Linked DNA regions of Homo sapiens: all the other regions are linked to region 5. Evidence: promoter capture Hi-C in 16 types of primary human blood cells and fetal thymus (Javierre and others, 2016). All regions are on one chromosome and are shown on one strand. Each heading gives the region's core, a stretch centred on a gene start or on the middle of the fragment in contact. The rest is flanking DNA. Distances are from core to core; before and after follow the strand shown. Region 1 has its middle 27 kb from the start of PSTPIP1. Region 2 overlaps TSPAN3 (tetraspanin 3). Region 3 holds the start of TSPAN3 (tetraspanin 3). Region 4 has its middle 5.9 kb from the start of PSTPIP1. Region 5 holds the start of PEAK1 (pseudopodium enriched atypical kinase 1). Region 6 overlaps PSTPIP1 (proline-serine-threonine phosphatase interacting protein 1). Region 7 has its middle 20 kb from the start of TSPAN3.

Region 1 (2,745 bases), core at 223-2,722, 450 kb before region 5:
ACTGCACCAGGGTCAATATTTTGCAGACTTTAAAATCATGTTTTAAAGCAGAACTCTTTCTTCGAATGAGATAATACACCATGGTACCACAATTTATAAAACAAAGCGGGGCCTCTTTGGTGATCCCTGGAATAGGGATCTGGAGCCCTCCCATGTGGACACCTCTTTGGAATATCCTGGGTGCATATCAAGTCCTTTCCGACAGGAGCTCCTTTGATTCTGTGGTTCTTTGAGAATTTTCCAAACCGGAACTTCTGCTCCCCTCCCAGGCTTTTCCTGAGCTGCCCACACACTTCCTTGGATGTGGTGTCACCAAGGTGGTGATGTTTATGGGGAAGGGGAAAGACGTGAGTGTGTGCACTGCTGCAGCCACATACCTCACATGCCCCTCTCCAGGGATGGCACACGGTGAGGGCTTTCCATGCTGGGGTCAAGGATTGCAGGGGCAGCAGATGGCAGAGGCTGCAATTTGAGTTTAACCAAGCCTTTCACCACCTTTGGTGCAGACAGGAGAAAAGGCAGGGAGCCCCAAAGCCTGCGCCAATGGGAAGGGCAGGGGTAGAATTGGTTTTGCCATGCTGGGGGAAACCTGTCTTGAAGGTAGCCTAGGAGACTGTCAGAGCCTGCCCTGGTGGTGGGATTTCAGAGGTGAACCTGGGGGACTTCCCAGACTCTAAAGGGGCCAAATGTGAGAAGGCCCATGGACTTGCCACAGAGGGGAGGGCCGCCAGCCAGGGCCTGCCTTTGTCTGCCCAGACTTGCTGGCTCTGAGTCTGTTTTTTCCAACAGAACCAGAACTTTGTCATAAAATTCTTGGACTACTTGAGTTTCTGGATTAGAAAGTCTCCTCCTCACCCCCTCCTCACCCCCTCCCCACCCCCACAATGATGATAGCTCCAGTCTTTCTCATAAACACCTAACAAGAGTAAAATGTTTTCCCTTCAGAAGGATAACAAAAAGAATAACACCAAGGAGATTTCGTTATAGTGCAGCTGCTTCTCTGGTTGGCAAGAGACACAGCTGTAACCTGGAGCTGTTTTTGTTTATTTGAAAGGAAAGGCAAGACAAGTATTCATTAATTCCACAAACATTTACTGAGCCCACAGAGCCACTGGGATTCTGCTGGTCACTGGGGAGATACATATATATGTATATGTATAATACCTATATATAGGTATTATATAATATACCTATATATGTGTATTTAATATACCTATATAATATACCTATATATAAAATATATATGTATATGTATGTGTGTGTGTGTATATATATATATAATATATATGTATATAAAATGTATAAAACTGGGTCTTGCTCTGTTTCCCAGGCTGGAGCGCAGTAGTGCCATCTTAGCTCACTGCTGCCTTGAACTCCTGGGCTCAAGAGATCCTCCCACCTCAGCCTCCCAAGTAGCTGGAACTACAGAAGCAGCCACCACACCTGGCTAATTTTTTAATTTTTTGTAGAGATGGGGTTTTGCTATGTCACCCAGGCTGATCTCAAATGCCTGAGCTCAAGTAATTCTCCTGCCTGGGCCTTCCAAAGCACTGTGATTACAGGCATGAGTCACTGTGCCCAGCCATTGAGGATATTAAGTCAGCCCCAGCTCTGAAGGTGCCATCAGTGAGGAGGAGATGGACATAAGAAAATCACAGCCCAGGTTCTAAAGGCCTCATCTTCTTTAAAAAAAAAAAAAAAAAGAAAAGAAAAGAAAAAAGAAAGAAAGAAAATCACAGCCTGGAAATCCGTGAATTGACACTGATAAGTTCACACAGGCTATACAGTTAGCCAGGTGAAGAAAAGAAGGATACCAAGCCTTCTAAGCAGAGAGTAGAGCATGTGTGGGCAGCCCAGAGTCAGGGAAGTGTGGGCTTCCTCCTTGGTAGAGAGGGGCATGAGAGGTGCTGGGTAGAGAGGGCCAGAATGTTATAGGAAAGGCATCCTGATCCAGACCCCAAGAGAGGGTTCTTGGATCTTGCACAAGAAATAATTCAGGGTAAGTCCGCAGTGCAATGTAAAAGCAAGTTTATTAAGAAGGTAAAGTGGTGAAAGGACGGCTACTCCATAGACAGAGCAGGACGTTCCCGAAAGTAAGAGGAGGAAGGCGTCCACCCTGGGTACAATGCTTGTATATATGGAGAGATGTGCTCTGCTACAAGGGTTTGTGATAAAGGATTAATTTTCTTAATTATGATATTTTGCAAGAATTGATATTATTATCTTTAAAGCAAAATTAGGAATGCCTGTGTTCTCCAGATATCAGGATATCTGGACATTCCCGTCTGGGTCTGTTTAGTAAACATTATTAATTTTTTCCCTTAACTGTAAATATCTAGAGGCCAGGAATGCCTGACTTTCTGAGAATGCAGCCCAGCAATTCCCAGCCCCATTTTCCTAGCCCTTACTCAAAATGGAGTCGCTCTGGTTCGAATGCCTCTGACAAGAAGATAGACCAATATGAGGGGCCAGGCAGGTCTGGTGGGTGCTGTCTGTCAAGCTGAATTTGGACTTTATCCTATGAATGATCAAAAACTGTTGATGGGTTTTAAGCAGGGGAGAGTCTTGACCACATTGGTAATATAGAAAAACTCTGTGAAATAAGGATGTACAGGATTTGCATCTAAAATGAACTCAGATCAAAATACAAAAGGCAAGCCTGCCGTGGTGGCTCACATCTGTAATCCCAGCGCTTTGGGAGACTGAGGTGGGTGGATGACTTGAGGCCAGGAATTGGAGACTAGC
Region 2 (2,833 bases), core at 305-2,804, 370 kb before region 5:
TGTTGTGTTTAGTGCAAGAGACCAGTGCTGTAGTACCAGTTCTTGATTTACGTATATGAATATATAAAACCTGTGAGGACAGAAAAACAAGAACTAGAGGGAGAACTAGCATACAAAAAAACTGAATAAAGCTTTGTATTCCCAAACTGAAAGAAAGAAGTACAATTTTTAAAAATTTTGTGACATTCTAATAAAATATCTTCCAAGAATACACTAAGACAACAGTTCGTTTATGTTTTGAACAGGTCACTCACTAATCAAGAAAGACAGTAAGACGAGGAGTTCCCTCAACACGTGGTCCCTCCCCATCCAGATTTCTGGTTTCTTTAGACCATTCCGGGTCTAGGTGTATAGACAAGAAATGGAAAACATGGGAAACTGGAGGCCAGTACCTCAGTCACTTCCACATTACCTACATACACAAAGATTCACTGTGATGGGGATTAAAACCATTCAGGGCTGACAACAGAGAACCAACTCACTCCGATAGAACTCCTTGGCAAGCTGTGCTTACCTGAATAGCTGCAAATGCCAGTGCGGCCCAGATCACATGCATCATGATTTCTTGTAGCTTCTTCACTACTAGAGCCTCACACCCCTGTAACAAACACAGTCATCCTCGTTAGAAGTGTTCTTTAAAAGTTAAAGCTGCAGATTCACAGGCCACTACCCACTTACAGAAAGGAAAATGACAGAAACTGAAAGAGTGGAAAAAAGATTCCATGATTGGTATAATTTACAGACATGTAATTAAAACAAAGACATGCATTTTATAATAATTTACAGTAAAACAATATATGACATTAAAGACAAGCAAGGTGGCAGAAAAGAAGTCCCAGATGGTGATAAGACATGGTGAAAAACAGGTTAATCAAGCTAGACTCAAGTCGTGGCCAAGAGACTCACCTCAGCATAGAGGTCGGAAGGGTGGGCCAGGCTGCCATTACAATTGCTGGCAGTCTCTCTGCAGCAGCTAAGAGGGACACTCTGGTTTTTGGTTTCTTTGAACCAATCTGTATTTTCCCAGTCTGAGTAGTTGTGAATTCCACAACAATGCAGCTAAAGGAGAAGAGAATAAGTATTATTTCTCACAAAAACCAAATACCTGAAGTTCCATGTACTACAGAGCTTTAAAATAAGCTACTCTAGACCAGTGATGTCCGATACAACTTTCTATAATGGAAAGTCTGCATGATCCAATATAGCAGCCACTAGCCACATGAAGCTCTACTGAGCACTTAAATTGTGGCTAGTGTGACTAGAAAACTGCATTTTAAATTTTAATGTAAACAGCCAGACATGGCTAGTGGCTCCAGAATCTCCATATGAAAAGTACATTGCCAGGCCGGGTGCAGTGGCTCACGCCTGTAATCCCAGCACTTTGGGAGGCCGAGATGGGCGAGTCACCTGAGGTCAAGAGTTCAAGACCAGCCTGACCAACATGGTGAAACCCCGTCTCTACTAAAAATACAAAGGCTGAGGCAGGAGAATCACTTGAACCCGGGAGGTGGAGGTTGCAGTGAGCCAAGATCGCGCCACTGCACTCCAGCCTGGGCAACAAGAGTGAAATTTCGCCATCTCAAAAAAAAAAAAAAAAAAAAAAAAAAAAAAAAAAAAAAAAAAAGAAAAGAAAAGTACATTGCCTATAAGCGGTAGTTTCTAACTAAGGAAAATCTTCATGTCTTACATGTTAAATATCTGGTTCCATGTTAAATATTATTTCCAATGACAAAGTATTTAAAATATTTGGTCTTAAAAATTTTGAGATTTGCTTTAAGATAATGAAGCAAAAAGTAAGTAGGGGCAATAAGACTGACGAAAAGTTGATATTACTGAGGCAAGGTCGGGGTGCAAACATCTATTACACTATTCTTTCTACCTTTGTGTGTATCAGACTGTCCATAACAACTTTTTTTTGACAGTTTTTCTGTTGCCTTTTCTTATCTTGTTTTCTAAAGGTATATATAGACCTCCCACCTCCCCTGGAGTCAATCTGGACTCCCACCTTTCCTGTGACACATACCTCTCTCTTGCGTCATCACCCCTTTGGCTAAGTACTTTGGGAGAGTACAGACTGGGGTCAGGGAAGGGGAAATCAGATGATAAAAAAAAGTTCAAGATGTTTCTCATCTGGCTAGGTGATGAAATAAACTTTTCAAGGGTGAAGGTTGGGGAAAAATATTGGTCACATCAGGATAGCCATGTATGTGAAGAAACATGGCTAATTTACACAGAAATAGCAGTTAGTTTAATGTTGACCCAATCGTGATTGGTCCTCAAAAACAAATCTGCCTCAAGAAAGCTCACCTGTCTCTGTACATAATCAATAGCCCGGCTAGCAGCATCAGGGTTGGTTCCATTGTAGGTCTTATACACTTTCTGAATGCTGCGATCAACCTCATTTTCCACCTGAATCAGAACAAAGAATTCAGTCCCTCAAAAATACTAGTAAAAGTAACATTAGTCAAGGCTCCTACTAAAATACTTAAATGAAATGTTTGCAAGTTGCCAGATATCTATGAATTTCCTGTAAAGTTTTCTCCCTTCCTGCCTTCATCTTCATATAGATATAGATGAAGGCAGGAGGGAGAAAAGTGACAGGTAAAAATTCAGACATATACCACATACATTCAAGCATTCAAAGAGAAGATTGTGTGCAAAATGGCAGGCTAACAATGTATTCAAAAGGGAGAAAAGTTGAGGCTTGGGATAGATGTCCTAAATTATAAATGGATGCCTTCCTTTTACAAATAAGTTACTCATTTTCCTTTCCTAAAGGAGGTAAAACAAAGTAACTCTGAAGCTCCTGTAAGATACTTTTAGGACAAATGCC
Region 3 (2,700 bases), core at 82-2,581, 350 kb before region 5:
GGAGGAGGAAGAGGCACAGTATGGTTAACCGGAATGTTCAAGGAGTGCTCTGGCGACTGTGGACAGAGCAATCTGTCCAGGGCACTCAAGTGTTTAAGGAAATGACAAGTTCAGAGAGGCAAGGTGATTTGGGACCAGACTGAGGACTTCTGCTCCAAGACCAGGGGAAGGAGTTGAACCTTATTCTACCGCTGAAGCTTCTGTTTTCCTTATTTTCAGATCAAGTGATGTGATAGAGGAAACGTTTTAAAAGATTTATCCGGGTGCAAAGTCCAGATGGGCTGGAGGGTGGAGAGACGGATAGGAACAACTTAGGTTACTATAAAAGTCCCTGATGAGATAAGGACCCAAACTAAGATGACATAAACATTCCTTTCAAAGAGGGTGTACCCCTTAAAAATTCATAAGCCACCTTTTATTGAAAGTGAACTCATCACTTTCAAAATCTTGTGACATCTCCATCATATATTTAACCAAGAGTTATAATCTCACAGTTTGGTCACCCCCATGACCAAAACAAATAGACCGATGTTCTTGGTCAATGGATTATTTGGCTCCTCGAGTTGAAACCCTTCATTTTCTGGGCTGGTGACAGTCAGCCGGTTCTCCACACACAAAGGGCGTTAAGTGGAACCCCCGCCCCGGCTCCGCAGCGTCCCCGCGGATCTGCCCGCCTCGGGACGGCCACTCGTCTGCGAGGCCCCGACAAAGAGCGCGGAACCTGAGCCTCTGGCGAAGATCCTATTTCGAGCCCGACGTCCTGCTACAGTCTGCAATAAGCGCTCTCCGTCCAGCCGGCGACTCCGGGGGGGGGAGACTGGGGCGCCTGGCACGGAGCCAGCCCGCGTGGGCCGAGCGCGGAGGCGCCGGCTGGAGGCCGTGGAGTCCCTGAAGGCCTCCCCTCGCTGTCCTCCGCGCCCAGGCTCCCGGCTTGGTCCGGCAGGGACCTCGCGAAGCGGCCTCACACCCGGCCCTCCCCTCGCCTCAGCCGCCTGAGGGCCCGCGCGCGGCCCCCGCGCGCCCGCCCAGGCCCAAGCCCGGCCCCCACGGGCGCCTCCGCCGCGGCCTCGCCCGGCCCCGCCGCCGGCCCCTCGCTCTGCCCGGCCCCGCTCACCCAGAAGATGAGGTTGAGAAAGACCAGCACGGTCTTGGAGGAGGTGATGCCGCACTGGCCCATGGCGCCGGTGGCCCGCGAAGGCCCGGCCCGGAGAGCGGGGCTGCGCTCACCGAGAGAGCGGCAATGGCGGCGGCGCCTCCTCGCTAGGAACTGCACGGCCTGCGCGGCGCTCCCCGCAGCCCCTGCGCCGTCGCGCAGCCCCGACCCCAGCAAGTGCCTCGCTCCTCCGCGCAGCCGCCGCAGTCCCCTCAGGGCTCCCGCGCCGCTCCCTGGCAACCGAGTCCCGCCCCACGCGGCCGGTAGCTTCAGCCAATCGCCTCTGCGGAGGCTGCAGTGAGGCCACGCCTCTTAAAGGAGCCAAGGCCTCAGCGCCTTTTCTTGGCCTCTGGCCGCCCTTGGACGCAGATGGCTCCCTAGGGAGGTTCTGGTGGACCAAACCCACTCTCCTCCTATGACTATGCCACCCTTATAGATGATTCAGAGCCCTCTGAGTGCTATCTTTCTACCTAGCCCATTCTCCCCTAGGAAGGTTGGAGACACTAATCTCTGCCTGACCAGATTCTCCTGACCAGGTTAAAATCTTGGCAGCACTGTTGGTGAGAAGTGCAAAGAAAAACAACAAATACTTATGGAGAAACTTATTGTACCAGGCGCTGGGCTAGACCTCAGAAGAGTCAGAGAGGAGAAAAGGCTGGTGATGGCGTTAGCAAGGCAGAGACATGTTTGTGTGGGTGAGTGGTTGGGAACAAGTTCTATTCCAGGGTAGTAAGTTTTGGACCAAGATTCGCAACGATTACAGAAACATCTCTTTGCATTGCAACATTTCACATTCTTCCCCCAATCTTGAATCCGTCATAGCAATTAATTATTGGGTGCTCACCCGGTGCCAGGCTCCATTAGTTCATTTAACCCCCACCACAACCCTGGATGGAAGGCACTATGGTTATCAGCCTCATTTTACTGATCGGGTAATTGAGGCTTAGAAAGGTTAAGAAGTTCGCCCAGAGCCACACATAGTAAGTGGTCTAGTGCAAAAAACACATCATCAGTCACACAATAAACTGCCTCTGTTTGCTGTCTTTCCTGCCATTATAATCCTGCACTCCCTCCTTGACCGCGCCCGTAAGGATTTCCATTTACTGGTCTTTATCAGCTCGCTCTCATGCAATCTCCCCCACTCATCACCTTTCCCAGGCACTCTCAGAAGTACCTGTTAATCTCAGCATCCTGTGCATTTACACCAAGCAGCAGCAACAGCCATTTATTCACTCATCAAACTTGCCGCGTGTCCCCTCTGGGCCTCACTGTTGTCGGTGGTGGATATTCCACTGTGAGCAAGACGTATCCTTCCTTCCATGGCTTACATTCGTTCGGGCAGAGGAGGCAGACCATAAACAAACGGGCAAGTGGGTATATGACATGAGGTAGTGTTAGGAAACAATTCAGAGGAAAGGAATAGAGTGATGAGAGGAGTCCTCTCTGAGGAGAGAACATTGGAGGGGACCCAAGGGAGGTGAGGGGAACAGCCCAAAGATGAGAGCAGCAAGGACAAAGGCCCAGAGACCGGAACATGATCACTGTGC
Region 4 (2,700 bases), core at 79-2,578, 430 kb before region 5:
GGTTTTCAGGGAAAATTAAACACCAGCTGGGCTGAAATCAAGCTTTGCTTTACTGTGAACAAGTCATTTTCCACCTGAATTAAAACCAACCCAAGGGGGGAGAGGATGCTAGAAACACATTTTTGAAGCTGTTTTGAGAGACAGCTGCCATAATGGAAACAAAACAAAACAGGCTAGAAAAGGGGTTGGGGGGTGGGAGATGGTTATGCCTTTCCTTCCCTGTCAGTGAGATCATTCTACTGGTCCCCCTCTGGGCCCTGCTACCCCACTTATTGGGCCTCAGTTTCCCATTTGTAAAATGAGAAAGTAAGGCAATAGCAGGAGTTCTCCTCCAAGGTGTATGACTGACTCACTTACGAAACCTAAAATCTATACTCCCTGGCCCCACCCAGTCAGTAGGCCAAGGTTGGGACTTGGCCTTTTGCTTTTTTTTTTTTTTTTTTTTTTAACAAAGTCCCACTTCTGGTAGGCACACTTTGTGCTGTTTGAGCACCTCCAGATAGTCCCTGCAGGCTCTTCCATCACTGCAGTCCTCCGTCCTCTGACCAGTGATCGGGTGGCAGTGGATTCCTGGGACTCACTGAGGCCCCTTCCCCATGCCCACCAGTTCCTGGGCCACCTCCCGAAGGGCCACTTTGCACCTCTTTGCTGTCTTTCAAGAATCCTGACCGGCACTCGGCTTCTGACGACTGATAATGCTTGGAAACTCAGAGTCACACTCTTGTGGCTGCAAATTAGTAAACCTGAAAGCTCCTCGTCAACTCAGGCGAGCTGTGTGAGTGGGAAGAGGCCTTAGTTTTTGCAACTGCTGTCCCTGGGGGCAAACTGAAAAACAAACTGTATCACATCCTGAAGGCCAAAGGCCACACCCTCAGCCCCAGTGGAGGACTCTGGGGCAAGGATATTTCCTGGAGTCAGAGGAGAGGAGCCTCCATCTGAGCGCCACACCCCCACCCCGCATGGGCTCTGCACTTCCTCCTCAGTGGGGACTTGCTTTTCCCTTCTTCCTCATCCTGTTTCTGCCCCAGGCCCTGGCCCCTCACTGCCAGCCCCACACTCTGGGGAGGAAAGACCCTTTTTAGCGATGGGACTCCGAAAAGTTAACTGACCTGTCTAAGCCTCAGGTTCCTTATCTGTTGAATGTGGCCGTAATGCCTCACACTGTTGTTGGGAAGATTAAGTGATACATAAGGCATGGGAAGTGCTTACAGCAGAGCCTGATGCAGCACAGCCCTAGTAGACTATTAGCGTTATTCTGGAACTCCCTTCCTGCCTCACGGGTGAGCTCTTTCCCATTAATCAAGACCCAGCTCCCCTCCTTTGGGAGGACTTCCCAGGCCAGGCTCCTCAACAGCCTTTCTCTGTTGTCTGCGCACAGCACATTTTCCCTTCCTAGGCTGCCTCCCTCACCAGACTGGCAGGGGCTGAGCTTGTTCATTTGCATGTTCCCAGACAGGAAGGCTCAGTCAGTGCTGGTGGGTGTGCTGCAGTGGAGCTTGTTCCAATCTGGGACAGGGTAAGTGGGGTGGACAGTGGTTGCCCCAGTACAGTAGGCATGTGCCTCTGGCCACCTGGAGGGACCCTACAGGTATTTCCCCCAGCAATAGTGAACCATCATGGCCAGGTGCTGGAACATCCCACTTCAGCCATGGGATGGGTGCACAACCCTACAGCCATGGGCAGCGTCATGACAGTGCATCCACCGAGGTCTAAATGGCCGACTCATGAATGCCCTTCTGGCCATAAGCTGATGGCAGGTTGAGAATTACTCCTGCAGGACAGATGCTCCCCTGCAGAAGGGAGAAGCGTGCGTCACTTGCCCTACCCCTTGGACCAGTGGCAATGCCATCTCCAAATGAAATTCATGGCAAGGGCCTCCTGGCTCTTCGAATGTCACCAAAGAGCTTTCAGACCCTCCTTCTCTCCCTCTTCTTTCCAGCCCCTGCCCCTCTTCAGAAGGCTGGAAGCTCTCGCTTTAGATTCTTCCTGGATAACAAATTAGAATCTTAGGACCCTCAGAGTGCAGTCCCGCCCTCCAGCTTGGTGTCAGCCTCACCTCTGAGAGCTATTCCCCCAACAACGTCTTCTCTTCCAGCCCCTGAGAACTTGGCTGAACTTCCTTCAAAATGGTGTTTATTCGGCCAGGTGCAGTGGCTCACACCTATAATCCCAGCAGTTTGGGAGGCCAAGGCAGGCAGATCACCTGAGGTCAGGAGTTTGAGACCAGCCTGGCCAACACTGTGAAACCCTGTCTCTACTAAAAATATAAAAATTAGCCAAGCATGATGGTGCATGCCTGTAATCCCAGCTACTTGGGAGGCTGAGGCTGGGAGAACTGCTTGAACCTGGGAGGCAGAGTCTGCAGTGAGCCAAGACTGTGTCACTGCACTCCAGCCTGGGCGACAGAGCGAGACACTGTCCCAAAAAAAAAAAAAAAAAAAAAGGAAAAAAGAAAAAAGATGTTTATTTGCTTTCCATCTTGCCTGCATTTTGTCCATTTGTCCATCCATTTATTGGTCAGGAAAGGCTTTCCTGAAGAGGTGACATTTGATAAGAGGGCCAAGGGATAAGGAGTAGTTAGCTGGGCCAAGGCAGGGTCTAGGATGGAACGGGAAGAAGCTTCCAGGCAGAGGGGTGATCATGTGTGAAGGACCCGGGAAAGAAGAGAATGAGGCAGAATGGAGGAATTGAAAGATGGTC
Region 5 (2,700 bases), core at 150-2,649:
TATCCAAGATTGCTCATGGAAAGTTTTACCCCGGTGGATAATTCACGTTTTTCACTTCCACACTGCAGAGAGCAATATGGGTTCTCTGACTATACACATCACTACATCACTTCATTTATCGGGGGAAAAAAAAAGACGCTGTGGCTGAACAAAAATCAGTAAGTAGGCCCCAAAACAGAATCCTCAAGGCAATCCCAATTCAGGTGAAAAGCTGTTCACGTACATCATCCAATGACCTAAAAATAGTCTTTTATGTAAGTCTCTAAGTATTTAATTCAACGTATGATCTTACCACATTCAACAGAGGCAGAAAAAAAATCAATTAGGTTTTCTATAGCAAGGCCAATAAAGATGAAATCATAGTTTTCCTCTAACTCATCACTACCCCCTCAACGTCAGCCTTCCAATAACTCCATTCCACAGCTCTCAAATTCCTGAACTTGGATCTTTAAAAAACAACGAATCGCAAAAAGTAACATTTAACAGGCCAGAGGCAGGCGGGGGAGGAGGGTCTCTCCCGGTGCTCTCAGCAATCTTTAACGTAGCCAAAGGAGGAAAAAACGAAATCAAGCTCCCAGACGGATGGTGCATGCGACGAGAGGGGAGGGGGCAGACGCGGTTCAGACGGCAAGTCCCCATCGAAGGAGGAAAGAAAAGTTGCAAGAACGGATGGGTCAAAGGGCAGAAAAGAAAAAAACTGAGCAGCCGAACCACTCACAACCCCCAAACGACCCCGCCAGCCCACACGTTCGCGGGCTCCCCAGCCGCGGCGCGAAGGGAGCAGGCAGGGAGCCACCCGGCTCCGTCCCGACGCTGCCGGCGAGGCTGCGCCGATGCTCCCGGGTGCGGGAGCGGGCTGACCGTGTGGACCCGGCAGGAGCCAGAGAAGCCCCTCCTGCCCCGGCCTCCCCGCGTCCAGCTCCTCCAGGCTTCACTTTCCCCCGCAACCTCCCAGCCGCGCCCGGGGGCGTCCCTCGCGGCAGGTCCCAACTTTCCTTCCTCTGGGGGGCGTCGCGCTCCCGGGGCCGCCGCCGAGGGAGGGGGCAGGGGCGGCAGGGGGCGCGCGGCACCGGCGGGGCGCGGGGGTGGCCGGGGAGCTAGAGCCCGCGCCGGGCGGGACGCACCGGCCGCCAGAGCCCCGGCGGCGGCGCCACCCAGAACCCGCGCCGCCACCCAGAACCCGCGCCGCCCCGCCCGGATTCCCCCGGGTCAGCGCCCTCAACCCGCGGCAACCCTGGTCCCACAGACGGCGCGTGAGTAGAAGACAACCGAGCGGACGCGGACAGCCGGGCCGCTGTTACCTGAGGGGCGCACACGCCGCCGCGGCGACCACCATCACCGTCCGTCCCGTCCCCTTCCTGGTGACCACGGCCGCCGCCGCCGAGCAACTGACACTGACTAACAACAACTAACTAACTACTCGCCGCGGCCGAGTCCACCGCGCGCTCCCGGCCGCTCGCCGCCCGCCCAGCCCACCAGCCTGCCCGCCTCCTCTCGGCCCCGCGCGCCGCCCCTCCGCGCGCGCCCTCGCCCGCTCGCCGCGCTCCTGGAGCCGTGAGCACGCGCGCGCTCACGGGCCCCGGTCGTCTCCCAGGTCTCCCTCAGCCCCAGCGGGAGGAGTCACCGCCAGGCCCCTCCTCTCTGCCTTCCAACCTCCAGAGGACGAGACCTAAAGGGTGCCTGATTGGCTGCGGAGGGCGGGGCTAAGACAAGGGGCGGGGCTGCCGAGACCTTGGGCCCGCGTGAGGGAAAATTTGGGTTCGATTAAGCCGCAGAGGAAAAGACCAGGGGAGTCTGGGCCCATTTGGGCGTCGGGGCCCGCTAGGTCAGCCGTCATCGAATACAGAATATGTTTTCGAGGACGCTAATATGTAGTCATGACCAATTTCAGTTCTTCTACTTTCTGCGGGCCTTCGCAATAAAAAAAAAAAAACTACATCTCCCAGAAACCTCCACGAAAATAAGGCTCACCTTGCGTAACCACGTAGTCCTTCGCCGCATTGGGGCAAAATAATCCCTTCATTTTTGTGAAGGTACCGTGGAAAATATTTCATTTTTCTTCTCACCGGAGCAATTGTAAATGCTATGCGGTAAGAGGAGTTACCTGTGGAAAGGTGGTTAAGAGATTAGGTAAAGAAAAGGAAAGGACACCAAAATAAAGTGCTGCGGAAGAATTTTTGTCCAGCTGTGAGACGACGAGTGCGTGAAGTGAAGGCGATTGAGAGGGGCTGAGGGAATTGTCCTCTGTGGAAGGGACTTTCTTTTGGCCCTAGGCCCCTTCCTGCCCCTGTCGTCAGCAGGTCAGTAAGCAAGGCGAGCTTGGGGGTGGCCCCAGTCGAGATGCCCTTCACCCCTTGAAGATCACCCCTCTTTTGGTGGTGGTGGTACTGGTTTGTCTCAGTTGGAGGCCGGCTGAATGGGGGCGCCTCAACTTCCGGTTGGGGGAGGGGAGGAAGGCCGTCCTGGGGAGGGGGGACACCCTCACTTCCTGTGGGGGGGTGGTGATGGTTTGGGGGTGTCCGACCCACTTCCAGTGCTGATGAGGGCTTGAAAAGGTGGTGCTTGGTGCCATTCGCGGAGACATTATCTTGCAGCTTGGGGATTGTGTTTTATGTGAAAAGTTAGATTATTCCAAGTTGTGCTGAACACCAACCTGCAGTCAGAATTTATGAGTTTGCTTCCACGTGGAATATGGAGCAT
Region 6 (2,834 bases), core at 335-2,834, 380 kb before region 5:
GAAGCCAGGCAGGACTGGGAAGAGGCGGGGGTCAGTGACTGGGAGTCAGAAGTGTAGACAGTCTGGGGAAAAGAGGTGTGGGGGCACGCAGCACAATGGCTCAGCAAGCCCTGCACCCCTTTCCCCCTGCCCTGGCCGCTTCCTCCACCTGTCCCCAGCCCCTGCTGGCTTGCACCCTGTCCTTTGCTGCCTGGGGAGCTGGCACGTGTGTCTGCCCGCCTGTGTTGGTGTCAGGCCCTCCCATGTGCTGGGTCCACGCATGTCCACCCTGCGCATGTGTGTGCACTCCTGGGGCCTTGGCCCTCGGCGCCTCATGTGGGAAAGGCCCCCCACATGCCACCTTGAATTGCAGGGCTGCCCCCCACAGGCCCCTGAGTCATGGCTCAGCCCCTCACCTGCATTCAAGATCCCTCAGGGTCTGGTCCAGTCTCTATTTCAGTCCTGTCCCCCACACACCCAAATTGGTCCACTCCACTCCACAAACCCCACCTGTGCCATGCCTCCTCCCCTGCACCTGAGCCCTCCCTCTCCTGGTCACCTGCAGTGCCTCGCTCCCCCTTCTCTCCTAGTAAAGCTTCACTCATCTTTGAAGACTCAGCCCCACCCCACTAAGAAGCCCTCTTGCCTTGGAGGCAGTGTCAGCCTCTACTTGTTGAGCCCTCACTACTGCCCACTTCAGGGGGTGCCCCCAGCATCTGCCGCATCTGCCTCTTCTGTTTTATTTTCCTTTATTCAGTAAACCTTCATGACCCCAGCTCAGTCCAGGCCTAAGCCTGGTGCAGGGGCAGGGGTAAAGTAGCCCAGCGCTGTCCCGGAACTCCTGTGAACAGGGTGGCTGAGCTGGCCTGATCACCGTGGGCCCACAGGGAGGAGGGCTGGCTCGGCCCAGGCAGTGGAGGCCTCAGCAGGGCACGTGAGCCAGGCTTTGTGTGGCAGTGCACCCCCCACCCCTACCCATGGGGGAAGCTGCTAGGGCAAGCTAGAGCAGGGGCCTGGAGGGTGAGGACTGGGCATCTTCCCACGAGGCCTCAGTGCGGAGGTCCTAGAACCCCCAAAGGGCCATGGGAGTCTTCCAATGAAGCTACAGCTTCGGGGGTTCTAGGATCCTCCCAAGGGCCCTGCAGGGAGCAGGTGCTGAGATGGCCTGCAGAGGGCGCCAGTGGAGGGCGTAGCTGGGGAAGGAGGAGCCACCAGGACTACTTTCTGGGGAGCCCTCCTGCCTGAGGGGCACCTCATAAATGACATCCATGCCTGGAGGCTAGGGGCAGTCCCAGCCCTGGCAGAGCGCGTGCAGCTCTGAGACCTCTCCCTGTCTAAACCCTCCCTCCTGGTGGGTCCCTGAGTGTGGGGCGGGGACACTCACCCTCTTTCCTCCCTGTTCCCAGGTTCTCTGGACTGCTGCACGGAAGTCCCAAGACCACTTCGTTGGCAGCTTCTGCTGGTAAAGGGGGTCAGGAGGGGACCCCCAAACACACTGATCCTGGGGGGGAGGAGAGGTCTCCCACATGGCACAGATGGGGCCACTGAGGCCCTCAAGAGGAAGTGTGTGTCCCCCAACAGCAAGTGTGGACAGCAGAAGGAAGAGGCAGGGCCCAGCATGGAGAAACCCCATTCTAGTAGGACTTCCAGGGGCCAGTGTCCCCAGAAGGGGAGGGGTCTATGTCTCACCCTGCTCTTAGCGTCCACAGAGACCCTGACCCCCACCCCCGAGCGGAATGAGGGTGTCTACACAGCCATCGCAGTGCAGGAGATACAGGGAAACCCGGCCTCACCAGCCCAGGAGTACCGGGCGCTCTACGATTATACAGCGCAGGTGAGGCCTCTATACCCCAAACCCACCTGTGCCACCTCCCCTGCACCTGAGAGCTCCCTCTCCCATCCAGTGCCTTGCGTCCTCATCTCTCCTCATGGTTTCACTCATCTTCGAGCATCCTCTCCTCCTCAGGAGGGCACGTGTGCCCGAGTGTGTCCACACTAGCAAGGGTACCTGGGAGTGTGCTTGGATGTGAGCTCTGAGAACAGCACCCAGGGCTTGCGGGGCCTCAGTGTGCATGTACTGACTGGAAGCTGGTGTGCAGCAGGCCTGTGTCTGCCCGGGCCTGTACACAGCACACACGTGGAGCACATGTACCTATGCCGTCCACACAGGCTGGGCGCTGAGTGGTGCACACGTGCGGGGAGCTGGCAGAGCCTGGAGCTGCCTGCAGGTCATAGCTTGAGGGCCAGGCTCTGTGCCTTTGGGTCAGGGCCCTGTCCTTCGTGGCCATGGGTGTGGAAAACTGTGGCCAGAATGAGTCTTGCTATCGTGCCAGGATTGATTTTCTGATGTCCATAGGGTGAGGATGAACCAAGGCAGCCACAGGGCAGCTATGAGAGTCCTTTCTGCTCCCTGCTTGAGGGGAAGAATGCATAGCCAGACCTCACATCCACCTGGACTGAGGCCAAGCACCCCCACATAGCCAGGCAGGCTGGGTGTGGACTCCACTGATGAGGCCAGGGCTCGGGGAGGCAGGGAAGCCAGGCCAGGAGAGTGATGGGGTACTTGGATGGCAGTGGCTAGCTGGGGCTGGGGACCGCAAAGGGGAGGCTTGTGGTAAGCTTAGGCATGAGTGTGCCCTGGGCTTGGGGTATGATGAGCACCCGTGACCCCTGACATGCTCCAGTCACTGCGTCTCCAGAATGGGAGAGGGGAGGTGAGGCTGGGAAGAAACCCAGGTTGGGGGAGAACTATGATGACAAACTGAGGGGGATGGGAGGCCCGGTCCGTTGGGTTACCCCCATCCTGTGTCCCCAAGGGGCTGCCCCTGCCCACCCTGGGAGACATGCCGCATTTA
Region 7 (2,843 bases), core at 186-2,685, 330 kb before region 5:
TTTAATTCAAGATAATTTAAATATAATAGCCACGTGTGGCTAGTGGCCACAGTATTGGGCAGCACGGGTCTAAATCAGTCATTGAAGCCAAAGCCTTGACCTCTCTTTGGGCCTGTTTGTCCAGTACCATGGAGAGCCCGTAGTGGTGGGCTGTCAGTATTAACTTCCTGTTTAGGCAGCCATTGTGTTTTACTCACATTGAAGCTTTACTCCTTTGGATATCAAAACCTGTAAACCAACAAGCGCAGAGCTGTGGGAACAAGAAGCGCATTTATTGAAAAGGTGTTATTAGTGAAGGGCACCATTCCCACATCCATGCTTTGGTGCCAAGATTGCTGTGATCAGTATAAATTGGTTGCTGGTTGTGCTCACATACCAAACGCTGGTGGACAGTGTCCCAAATTCACAAAATGTTGTCTACCAGGGTGCTGGGACTGATCCTTTTTTTTTTTTTTTTTTGAGACAGAGTCTCGCTCCGTCGCCCAGGCTGGAGTGCAGTGGTGCGATCTCAGCTCACTGCAACCTCTGCCTGCTGGGTTCAAGTGATTCTCCTGCCTCAGCCTCCCGAGTGGCTGGGTGTACAGGCATACACCACCATGCCTGGCTAATTGTTTGTATTTTTAGTAGAGATGGGGTTTCGCCACGTTGCCCAGATTGGTCTCAAACTCCTGAGCTCAGGCGATCTGCCCACCTCGGCCTCCCAAAGTGTTATCATTACAGGTGTGAGCCACCGCACCTGGCTGGGACTGATCCTTTAACAGCCCATTCTACTCTTCTATAGGGCCAGCTGCTCCTACATGTATGAAAAGACCAGTGAATCCCATGACTATCAACCCACTGCTCCATTTCTTTGACTGTACACCTGATCCTAGGGCAGAAACAGTGTTGTATGGGTTGCTATGATGGAGTGGAGGACATTATTCAGGCCACTGATGGTGGTGTTGATGGAAACACAGTAAAGACAGGATGCATATTCAACTCCAATATAAGTAGTTATTCCAGTGACGTCAAGTTCCTGCCCCTCCACGATGGAAGGAGCCCCAGTAAAACTAACTTTCCATCAAGTAGCTAACTGGTCCTCCTCACTGTGGTATAATATCAGATTTGCAGAACTGGTTTCTACTGCTGAAAGTTAGACCCTCATCGGTGCCAGTGGCTGCTTCACCTTTGGAGAGGCCATTAGGTCCTCACTTGGATAGGTGGCTGCTGCATCCAAAACTACTTTATTCCTGAGTGGGTACAAGGGTGACCGAGGAAAGAGACTTATAGACATTTACTCATCCACTGGGTGGGTCTTCTTGTCCACCTGATTATTGAGAACTTGCTCCACAGTGAGGACATTTTGGAGAGAATCCACATGGCACACAAATACTCATTGCCTCTGGGTCAGTTCTGAGCGATCCATGCACATTCTCTTCCCCAAACCATCCTGTCTCCAATCTCGCATCTTGTTCTGGAGTCCTTGTTTGTCCAGCAAAACCATGACCTACTGCCCATGAGCCAGTGTAGATCTATATCTCAGGCCATCTGGCCTTTGGGGAAAGTGTTCAAGATGTAACGCTCTAAATTCCACTCCTGAGAGGATTTGTTCTCCACACTGTCTTTTGGGGCCACTCCTGAGTGGGAGAGTAACACTGCAGCTGTGCACTTTTACTGAACCAGTTGGGGTAAACTCTACTCAATTATTATCTTCCTCTGTCAACTGGCCACAAGGAACACCCCTGAAGCCATAGATGTGGAGCATAGTTTGAGTGACAGGAGGACAGGACCACAGGAGGTGAATTATCCCCACAGCTGTGTTTGGGTGACAGGCCACCCATGTGTCCAAGTGAACACTGCTTGGCGCTTCCAGCTGCAACAACGGCAGTGTGTGCTCCAGCCTTCCTGCTTGGAACTGTAATTCCTTTGTGTGTTTTGTGTATCAGATTTTGGTATGCAGACTTGCAAAAGAGTGTATTTCCATCTTTATGTTCTATATAGTTTAATAAGATTATCAGTGTGTTGAAAGTTTGTCAGATTTTGCCTTCAGTCATCTAGGTATTTATGTGTTTTGGTTGGTAGACCCTGAACGATCTTTTCAATTTCTTCTCTAGTAACAGGGCCACTCAGGTTTTGTTGTTGTTATTGTTGCTGTTTTTTGAGACGGAGTCTTCTTCTGTCGCCCAGGCTGGAGTGTAGTGGCACAGTCTAGGTTCACTGCAATGTCTGCCTCCCGTGTTCAAGTAATTCTCCTGCCTCAGCCTTTCAAGTAGCTGGGATTACAGGAGCACACCATCACATCCGGCTAATTTTTGTATTTTTAGTAGAGACGGGGTTTCATCATGTTGGCCAGGCTGGTTGCGAACTCCTGACCTCAGGTCATCCACCCATCTTGGCCTCCCAAAGTGTTGGGATTACAGGAGTGAGACACCACACCCTTCCACCACTCAGGCTTTTTATCTCTTATTGAGCCTATTTGGTAATTTACATATTTCTAGAAATATATCCATTTTTATCCATAATATCTGCTTTATCTAAGTTTTCAAATTTTAGCATCATGTTACACATATTATTTGCTTATAATCTATACAATTGCCTCTGTATTTGCAGTTGTGTAATCCCTCTTGCCTTTACTAATGATAAATATTTGTGTTTTCTCTTTTTTCTTAGATGCAATAGAGTCTAATCAAAGCTTAATTTTATCAGTTCTACTTTATTTTTCTAAATCATTAATTTATATATTTTCGTTTTTTGTTTTGTTTTGTTTTGAGACAGAGTCTCGCTCTGTCACCCAGGCTGGAGTGCAGTGGCGCGATCTGGGCTCACTGCAACCTCCACCTCCCGGGTTCAAGCAATTCTCTTGT

Evidence for each region. Contacts are between HindIII fragments. The CHiCAGO score rates a contact against its expected background, and 5 or more counts as called.
Region 1: a fragment that was not itself captured here is called in contact with the fragment with the promoter of PEAK1 in region 5 in 1 of 17 cell types (neutrophils); the score reaches 6.8 in neutrophils.
Region 2: a contact is called between a fragment that was not itself captured here and the fragment with the promoter of PEAK1 in region 5, in 2 of 17 cell types (monocytes and neutrophils). The highest score is 6.4, in monocytes.
Region 3: a contact is called between the fragment with the promoter of TSPAN3 here and the fragment with the promoter of PEAK1 in region 5, in 8 of 17 cell types (monocytes, fetal thymus, total B cells and 5 more). The highest score is 9.5, in monocytes.
Region 4: a contact is called between a fragment that was not itself captured here and the fragment with the promoter of PEAK1 in region 5, in 5 of 17 cell types (neutrophils, monocytes, non-activated CD4 T cells and 2 more). The highest score is 8.2, in neutrophils.
Region 6: a contact is called between a fragment that was not itself captured here and the fragment with the promoter of PEAK1 in region 5, in 1 of 17 cell types (neutrophils). The highest score is 5.9, in neutrophils.
Region 7: a fragment that was not itself captured here is called in contact with the fragment with the promoter of PEAK1 in region 5 in 4 of 17 cell types (total B cells, naive CD8 T cells, M1 macrophages and 1 more); the score reaches 6.9 in total B cells.

What each region holds. Positions count from the first base shown.
Region 1 is chr15:76,966,946-76,969,690 of GRCh38, forward strand. No RefSeq gene overlaps it. Among named protein-coding and RNA genes, the nearest start is that of PSTPIP1, 27 kb to the right of the region's middle. The HindIII fragment of the contact is 7,590 bases long and covers 1-2,745 here.
Region 2 is chr15:77,051,871-77,054,703 of GRCh38, forward strand. TSPAN3 (tetraspanin 3) reads right to left here. Exons shown (of 7, transcript NM_005724.6): 4 at 2,308-2,409; 5 at 907-1,059; 6 at 515-598. Among named protein-coding and RNA genes, the nearest start is that of TSPAN3, 18 kb to the right of the region's middle. The HindIII fragment of the contact is 2,850 bases long and covers 130-2,833 here.
Region 3 is chr15:77,069,778-77,072,477 of GRCh38, forward strand. It overlaps TSPAN3 (tetraspanin 3), which reads right to left and starts at 1,332. Exons shown (of 7, transcript NM_005724.6): 1 at 1,115-1,332. The coding sequence starts at 1,177. RefSeq lists a silencer at 799-1,498 and an enhancer at 1,639-1,698. The HindIII fragment of the contact is 12,417 bases long and covers 196-2,700 here.
Region 4 is chr15:76,987,829-76,990,528 of GRCh38, forward strand. No RefSeq gene overlaps it. Among named protein-coding and RNA genes, the nearest start is that of PSTPIP1, 5.9 kb to the right of the region's middle. RefSeq lists an enhancer at 544-703. The HindIII fragment of the contact is 2,577 bases long and covers 41-2,617 here.
Region 5 is chr15:77,418,705-77,421,404 of GRCh38, forward strand. PEAK1 (pseudopodium enriched atypical kinase 1) reads right to left here and starts at 1,400. Exons shown (of 10, transcript NM_001385026.1): 1 at 1,302-1,400. It overlaps HMG20A (high mobility group 20A), which reads left to right and starts at 2,184. Exons shown (of 10, transcript NM_001304504.2): 1 at 2,184-2,300. RefSeq lists silencers at 786-995, 1,006-1,175, 1,426-1,745 and enhancers at 2,196-2,245, 2,636-2,685. The HindIII fragment of the contact is 8,449 bases long and covers 1-2,700 here.
Region 6 is chr15:77,034,123-77,036,956 of GRCh38, forward strand. PSTPIP1 (proline-serine-threonine phosphatase interacting protein 1) reads left to right here. Exons shown (of 15, transcript NM_003978.5): 13 at 1,386-1,441; 14 at 1,680-1,813. Among named protein-coding and RNA genes, the nearest start is that of TSPAN3, 36 kb to the right of the region's middle. RefSeq lists enhancers at 370-1,007, 1,008-1,643. The HindIII fragment of the contact is 2,024 bases long and covers 573-2,596 here.
Region 7 is chr15:77,089,485-77,092,327 of GRCh38, forward strand. No RefSeq gene overlaps it. Among named protein-coding and RNA genes, the nearest start is that of TSPAN3, 20 kb to the left of the region's middle. The HindIII fragment of the contact is 2,467 bases long and covers 203-2,669 here.